Linked DNA regions of Homo sapiens: region 2 is linked to region 1. Evidence: promoter capture Hi-C in 16 types of primary human blood cells and fetal thymus (Javierre and others, 2016). All regions are on one chromosome and are shown on one strand. The core of a region is centred on a gene start or on the middle of the fragment in contact, and the rest is flanking DNA. Distances in the headings are between cores, read along the strand shown.

What was found. The method cuts DNA at HindIII sites, captures the fragments that hold promoters and counts their contacts. A CHiCAGO score of 5 or more calls a contact.
Region 2: a fragment that was not itself captured here is called in contact with the fragment with the promoter of EIF4EBP1 in region 1 in 2 of 17 cell types (erythroblasts and total B cells); the score reaches 5.8 in erythroblasts.

The regions. Positions count from the first base shown.
Region 1 is chr8:38,028,686-38,032,634 of GRCh38, reverse strand. EIF4EBP1 (eukaryotic translation initiation factor 4E binding protein 1) reads right to left here and starts at 2,101. Exons shown (of 3, transcript NM_004095.4): 1 at 1,917-2,101. The coding sequence starts at 2,061. RefSeq lists enhancers at 1,281-1,380, 2,010-2,304 and a silencer at 1,881-2,320. The HindIII fragment of the contact is 5,036 bases long and covers 1-2,934 here.
Region 2 is chr8:38,406,369-38,410,317 of GRCh38, reverse strand. LETM2 (leucine zipper and EF-hand containing transmembrane protein 2) reads right to left here. Exons shown (of 11, transcript NM_001286819.2): 9 at 3,280-3,372; 10 at 2,855-2,956; 11 at 791-2,106. The coding sequence ends at 2,044. All of the region lies in intron 1 of LOC102723716 (a long non-coding RNA gene), which reads left to right. Among named protein-coding and RNA genes, the nearest start is that of LETM2, 22 kb to the right of the region's middle. RefSeq lists a silencer at 518-567. The HindIII fragment of the contact is 1,607 bases long and covers 1,518-3,124 here.

The DNA.
Region 1 (3,949 bases), core at 852-3,351:
CCCCCTACTGCTAAAGACCTTCAAAGGGAAGGGGATTTGCTGTGGTCTGTCAGCCCCCTGCCCACTCCCCACTTCCCAACCCAAAGTGAAAAGTGGATTTGAAGTTCCTATATTTTATATTTATTATTTATTTTAGAGATAGGGTCTCGCTCTGTCACCCAGGCTGGAGTGCAGTGGTCAATCATAGCTCACTACAGCCTCCAACTCCTGGGCTCAAGCGATCCTCTGGCCTCAGCCTCTGTAGTAGCTAGGACAACATTTTGTTGTTGTTTTGTTTGTTTCTTTGTAGAGATGGAGTCTCACTATGTTGCCCAGGCTGGTCTTGAACTCCTGGCCTCAAGCAATTCTCCTGCCTTGGCTCCCCAAAATGCTGGCATTACAGGTGTGAACCTTGGTACCCGGGCCAGAAGTGCCTATAAACAGTATCCTGGCTTCCAATTTGACCCAACAATCCAGCAATAAAGAGTGCAAAAAAGGGCTACCTGCGCCTTCAGGCCGGCCTCAGGGCCCACCCTGAACAAATCCAGCAGACACTTACACCCTCATTTGAAAGAACTCCAAAATTGTCAGGAATTGTCCTGGTAGACCATTGTGACAGAGACAAAGGAGAACAGCATGGACTACAAAAGACCCAGCAAGGGAAAGAGGATGAGTCGGGAATGGCAACAAGAGCCCCTGCGAGCTTTTCCTTGGCTCATTTCTAATAGAAAAGGAAGCATTTCTCCCTTCTCTGCCTGGTTGCTATTTCTTGTCCAATCTGGGAAAACGGTGTGACAATGGGCAACAGACACGTGTTCAAGCTCTGGGGCCTCAATGCCGGGCTCTGTAGAATAAGACGGCAGGGCTGGACAAGATCCCTAACCGTTCTAACAGTGTATGTTTTGGATCAAACAGCAGAGGACCTCGGATCTGGCCGCGCTCGCTGCTGGTGGGACAGCTGCCTGAGAAAATAAGCATGTGGCCCCCGCCCGCCACCTAGCCAAGCGCCAGGATCTGTCGCGTTTTCTAGTAGTATGGAAAGCAGCGTGGAGGAGAATGAAGGGAGAGGAGCAAAAAGGGGTGGGGGCAGTGCGACAATGAGAGGGGAGGAGAGAGCCACGAGGATTTATTTCATCATGCAAACAGGCGCGTAGGTTTCATCAGCGTCTGTGCGCTGGGGCTCCGGGGCTGGGAGGGAATGCCAGGTTCCTGAGGGCAGCCCGAGGCTGGCCCCCCCACCCGTGCCAGCTCAGCTTCCTCTTCCTCATCCTCTCCCAGGGAGGTCACACGGTGCCTCCTCCTCTCCCCGGACAGAAGAACGTGTTTTTCTGCACAGCCCTGGCCGTGGCGCCAGGGTCCCCCCCGCGGAGATCCCACTCGCGTAAATGGGGAACGTGCCACAGGTGCCCGGGAGGCGCTGCTGGAGCAGGCAAGCACCCCCAGATCCGAACCTCAGTCAGAGCGCGCGAGTCCAACACAAAACTCGGCGTGCTTCGGGAAGGAAAAAGGGCCCTGCAGGAATCGTTTATCCCAACAGATAATACCCATCCCATAAAAACACCAGGCCAGGCCTCTCCTGGATCGTGGGCCACCCTAACTCCGCCCTCTCCCGCTTCGGGAGCGCCCCCAACACCCACAAGGGGCAGCACAGCTCGGCATGTGGCTGTCCTGGAGGCGTGCGTGTTTGTTAGGTGTCAGCTGTCTGACACCTAACAGAAAGAGGAAACAAACGGGGCAGTTTGTAACTCGGGTCTGGAAGACGCACTCAGAGGGGAAGCGGGCGGCCACTTCCATGACCCTCGCTGTCTCTCCGATGCCCCTTTTCCGTTCTTTCCAATCACGGCGCCCTTGAGCCTGGACACCCGGTCCAATCCGCGATTCCCGATCCTCCCGCCCGCCCAGGAGCCGGCAAGCGGCGTCGCCAAGCCCGCGCCTACCTCCCGGGGTGGTGCTGAAGAGCGTGCCGCCGGGGGTCGTGCTGTAGTCCCCGGGCGGGAGCTGCACGCCGTCGCCGAGCACCACCCGGCGAGTGGCGGGGATGGCCCGGCTTGGGGTCTGGCTGCAGCTGCTGCCCCCGGACATGGTCTCCTGTGCGCTGCACCCGCGAACCTCTCGCTGCCCTCCCGCGCCTCCAGCCTCGCTCCGCCTCGCCCCGTGCCGCCCCGCCCCAGGACGCCCCTTCCGCCTCTCCCGCCCCACGCCCCTGGGATTTGTAGTCCGCGCCGCAGCCCCACCCAGCTCCAGGACGCTGCTTCCACGTGGGATCCCCCGCCGCCCCCCGACCCACTCCCGTCTGCTCACGGGCTCTTCCGCACGGGCGCTGGCGCCGCCCCGCAGCGACTGCCCCTCCGTCCGGGGTCCCTCCCCGCCACGCTGGCAGGGACGGATATGGGGATGGCGGGCGGGATAGCTCGCCTAAATTAATCCTTGGCTGGGTTGGGGGCGGCGACTCAGGACCGCGCGGAGATCCGAGCTGACCCGGCCCACTGCAGGAAGGCCCGGTTTCTGCATTAGGACATCAGGCCTGGTGTACCCTTCGGCACTCCCTGTTTCGTGCCTTAGTTCCTCAGATGAGAAAATGGGGATTGAGTAGTTATGCTCACCGCCCCCCGCCCCGCTTCAATTTCTTGACCTTGATGGGGGTGGGGGTGGAGGGGCTAACAATTCCGTTCCCGGCCTTTAGAGAGGGTGTGGGAGGAGGAGTGAACCAACCAGCGGCGTCCTGGGAGCTAAATTTAGAGCTGGGGGCGCAGAGGTGGGTGGTGGGGAAGGGCGTTGGAGAGGAGTAAGAGTGTCGAAGAGGTTTCCCGATAGCCCCTGAATTGAGTCCAACGTCCACCTGAGGTTTAGTAGGTACTCCTTGGATGGATGGATGGATGGATGGATGGATGGATGGATGGATGGATGTTCAAGGGGAGAGAGAAAAATGCAAGAAGGACCGAGGATGGAAAAGCTTGTTGGGTTTGAGAAGTTCTTAGCATTATGGGCACATATTGTGGGGAAGAGGGTGAAGAGGGGAGGGCAGTTTAAAAGGGAAATTGGGTGGTGCACCTGTAATCCCAGCTACTCAGGAAGCTGAGGCTGGAGGATGCTTGAGCCCAGGGGTTTGAGGCTCCAGTGAGCTGTGATCACACCACTGCACTCCACCCTTTGTGACAGAGACCCTATCTCTAAAAAAATATATAATAATTTTTTAAAAAGGAAATTGGGGTCAGGTCGTTGAGTTTTTCAAATTATGCCAAAGTGCTTGGACTTTGTCTTAGAAGGGCAGGAGATATCAGAGATCTTTTAAGCAGGGGGATGACATGATTTGAGTTGTTTTTTGGAAGGATAACTAGTAGCCAGTGGAGTTTCAGAATGGGCCAAGGAGGGCAAGGCCTGAGATAGGGAGACCTGTTGAGTTTGGTCTCACTTTTGAGGGAAACTTTAGGCCTACAGTGGCTAAGACAGTAGCCACCAGCTACAGGTGCACATTGAGCACTCCAAATGTGACCAGTCCAAACTGTCACAAGTTTAACATACACACCATATTTCAAAGACTTAGTGTGAAGAAAATCATGTAAAATACCTGAATAATTTGTTTCTATATTGATTGTATGTTGAACTGATAATATTTTGAGTATACTGGGTTAAGAAAAATACATTATAAAAATTAATTTTGGGCCAGGCGCAGTGGCTCACGCCTGTAATCCCAACACGTTGGGAGGCCGAGGCAGGCGGATCATGAGGTCAAGAGATCGAGACCATCCTGGACAACATGGTGAAACCCTGTCTCTACTAAAAATATAAAAAAAATTAGCTGGGCATGGTGGCGCATGCCTGTAGTCCCAGCTACTCGGGAGGCTGAGGCAGGAGAATTGCTTGAACCTGGGAGGCAGAGGTTGCAGTGAGCTGAAATCATGCCACTGCACTCCAGCCTGGCGTCAGAGCAAGACTCTGTCTCAAAAGAAAAAAAAATAAATTTCGGCTG
Region 2 (3,949 bases), core at 1,072-3,571, 380 kb before region 1:
TGCGGCAGGAGAATCGCTTGAACCCAGGAGGCAGACGTTGCAGTGACAAGATCGTGCCACTGCACTCCAGCCTGGGTGACAGCAAGACTGTCTCAAAAGAAAAAAAAAAAAAAAAAAAAAAATCTAAAGTCATACCCAATGAGATCATTAGTGGCAGGTAGAGCCAAGGCATCTGCATCTATAGAGAAGGGAGCAGAGAGGAGAAAGCTCTGAAACAGCTGGCACAGCCTTCCATTCCCTCCACTGAGGAGAGCCAGGGAAGAAGGTGGTCAGTAAGAACCCAACTGCTAAGACTTGGTCTGGGCGGGTTCCTTCTAGGTGGACCGTCAACAGTATTCAGGACCATTTCCACCATACTGCCCTACATGCAGGTCTTCGCGTGCAGAAGGGATCTATTTCATAAACATGCTAACTAGAGGTGTAACTTTCATTACCCCGGGAGGCTCAAAGAGTTGGTGGTTAACGATTTACCAGAACACCACTAGCTGGGGCTAGATGTAAGGATCACTGAACCCAACAGCCAAGCACCCTAAATGATGAGAACAACAAAACATCCTTGACTTCTCTGAGCTGCTAGCAGAAGAGTGGGAGGAGAGGTCTATCAAGTGGCCCGGGTCCCTTGACCAGGTCACTGCTCATTCCCACCCTGCTCGGAGGGAAAGCCAGAAGGAACTGTAGGACAGCCCAGCAGTACCTATGACTCATTCAGCTAAAACAGAATTGAGCAAGTTTAGCTAATCCCTTTCCCACATTTAACACCTGAAATGTGGACTAATTAAAATACCCGTCATTTTTGAAATGGGAAAGTGTATTGTGAATCACCTCGATAGGCAGGATCCATGATTGCTGTATGTGCACAGTAGGGATTCATCATTCCCAAAGAACTGGGCTTCATTAGTGGGACATGGTGGGGCTTCTCTGATGGAGCACAAATTTAGAAAGCATTGTAGAATGCATATTCTTGCTGTGAAGTGCTGGTGACATTCCTCATTTAGGTGATCCCAGACAGGACAGTGGAGTTTTACTTGTTTTAACTGACTGCTGTCTAACCACAGCAAGTAAAGAAATCTAATTTTATCACCTACAGGCTGAAATACCTTTGGCCTTCTAACCACTCCCCAGGGGAAGAAAGCCCTTGGTCAGCTGCATGGCAGTCTATCTATTATTTCATATTATTAATACTGAAAACACCAAGCATAAATATCCTAATGTAATACTTGTTGCTGGGTAGCACAGGGATTATATCAGACTTTCACAATCCCTATGACTAATAGTCTTATTTGTGAAAGACAAACTGGCCAGAAACACACACACCCAACACAAACATGGTTAAGGCTTAAACCCTTAATTATGCTTCCTAGCAAAATGGTGGCTAATGAAAGCCATATGTGCTAGAAGAGTGGCTGCCTCGCAGATTGCGGCTGCCTCACAGATTGCTGCAGCCTCTGCAGGCCCAAGATGGAGGTGTCGGAAGCAGCCAAATCTTTCTGATTGCCAGTCTGTTTCTCCAGGAAGCTTCATTATATCCAGAAAGATCTTACTGGGGAGTATATCCATCCCATCTCATAAGGTACTTTGTTTCCAGGGTGCTGATCCTACTGGTGGATCATTCAGAAAGTTAATCAGGTGCTCCTAAAATGGTTTTTGGAACTTCCAAGTTCTTACTCAGAATTCCAAGCCATAGGAGACAGGTATCTAAGGTGCCAAGCTGATTCCATTGTGCAAAAAATTTCCTCTCTGAAGGGACGTACACATGAAACTAAAAAAACAACATGATGGGGGGTGGGCTTTATACAAAGTTGAGTGGGGTGACAATGGTACAGAGGAAATGGGACTTTGCAATTATATTTTTCTAAGTGGTCTGAACTTGGTCTCACTACCCACATCACCTGGAATGGTTACCAGGCCTCAAAGGACTGCCCCACGGGCTAAACAGCTGATCCGCTCTCTGAAGCCAGACAGTCTTATCTGGGAGGTCCTTTACAGATGCCACTGTTGAGGGCCGGAAGCTGAAGAGAGTGAGCTCCATCCTCAAGTAGTCCTTTATGCTCCTTTTGAACTAGCCTTGCTGTTCTGGGCCGTCATTTGTGATTTGGCCTGGAGTGTCTAGGCGTAAAAAACAAGGACTGTAGGCATTAGTCACAGACGTGTAAGTTCTTAAGGAGTGAATGCTATTTTTGTTTTCTTAATCAAAATAGTGACCACAAAGTCAAATCTGAGATTATAATTTACCTTGGTAATAAAAGATAAAGGAGATTTACAAAAAACAAGGTATGTGTGTGCCTTGGGATGCTTTTCTGGGCTTACCCCATCTGTGTCTTCATAGATTCTCTGTCCTGCCAGCCATGTCTTTGGTCCACAGGAGCCACTTCCCACTTCAACTCTCCCACAACCTCCCCACTGTTTACTCTCTTCATGCCCTGTGCTCTTGCCCCAAATCCCTTCACCCAATTGGGAAAACTGGATGATAGATAAGTAGTTTCTTATTTACATGCATTTCTCTGGAAATTAAAGTTGCTTTCCAGCTAGTATTTCCTCACGTCGGAAGCATGTGTAAAATAACACATGGAAACTATTTCCACCTGGCACATAAGAAAAAAAGGGTCTGCCTATATTGTAACTGACTTCTACACTTTGCATGTTTTAGTCTGACCCACAATTTTTTTTTTTGGATAGTTGAAGTAAAAAACGTGGTTACAAGATGACTAAAGTTTGGCCTACAATTTCCTGTTTGGACAACAGGAAGAATTGTGCAGTGTTTTGCAACAGGACTAATTCTAGATTCTCACTGCCCTTAAAGATAACTAGAGGGAAAGGGTCTTCTCTTTCTTTTTCATTTATTAAAGATACTTACAGGTTCTTCAGAAGAAGTGATGGGTCCTTTAGGTAATGAAATAGGTGTTGATGGTGTTATGGGTGATGATGTAACTGGTGGCGGCTGTATAAAGTCTTCATCCTTAAACATCAGAACTGAGAGTTGGGTTACTGATTTAAAAGAAAATGTGTATTAATCTACAGTCCACTACCTTGACTACCAGGAACTTGTCACAACTACCTCATATCCTGGCACAGGATTCAAAAGGCAAAATCTGGAACCTAATTACGTGTAGCCAAATATTAAGCTTCCTCTTAGATCAAACAGTACAATAAATATTCCTTATTAAGGAACATTATTGTATTGAATTTCAATTTCATTAAGGGGATTAAAACAGGAGAAAATGACCCATTGCTATTTTCATTTTTTAATCTAATTAACCAAATGGAAAGTAACTGTCTAACCTTAGTTCCCTTCAGTTGAGGTGCAAGATCCACCATGTTCTCTTTAGATTCAGTGAAAGTAGGTAATTCCACAAGAATATCAGTCTTTGGAGCCTGGGGAGATAAACATTTTATGTATCATAAGCTTTCTGCTCTTCCTAAAACCCAGAAACTTTTACAGTAGTCAATGCCTTTTTTAGCACTATTTGCTTTCCACTAAATCCCTAACTTCCTCCTCTAGCTACACCCTTTATGAGTAACCTATGAAATATGCCCCTGATGTAGCAACTTAGTATTATTTCTCTTTGAGTTTTGAGTACTTTATATACAAAAGTTGCACTCTGATAGATTCTAGCATTTAAAATAATCATTAGCAATCCACTGATGGCACTGGTCCTGCTGTTGGCCTCAAAAGCCATTTCTCAATTATTTGTTTTTCTTTTTTTCTTTTTTTTGGAGATGGAGTCTCACTCTGTCACCAAGGCTGGAGTGCAGTGGCTCGATCTCGGCTCACTGCAACCTCCACCTCATGGGTTCAAGCAATTCTCCCTGCCTCAGCCTCCTGAGTAGCTGGGATTACAGGCGTCTACTACCATGCCCGGCTACTAATTTTTGTATTTTTAGTAGAGACGGTGTTTCACCATGTTGGCCAAGCTGGTCTTGAACTCCTGACCTCGGGTGATCCACCCAC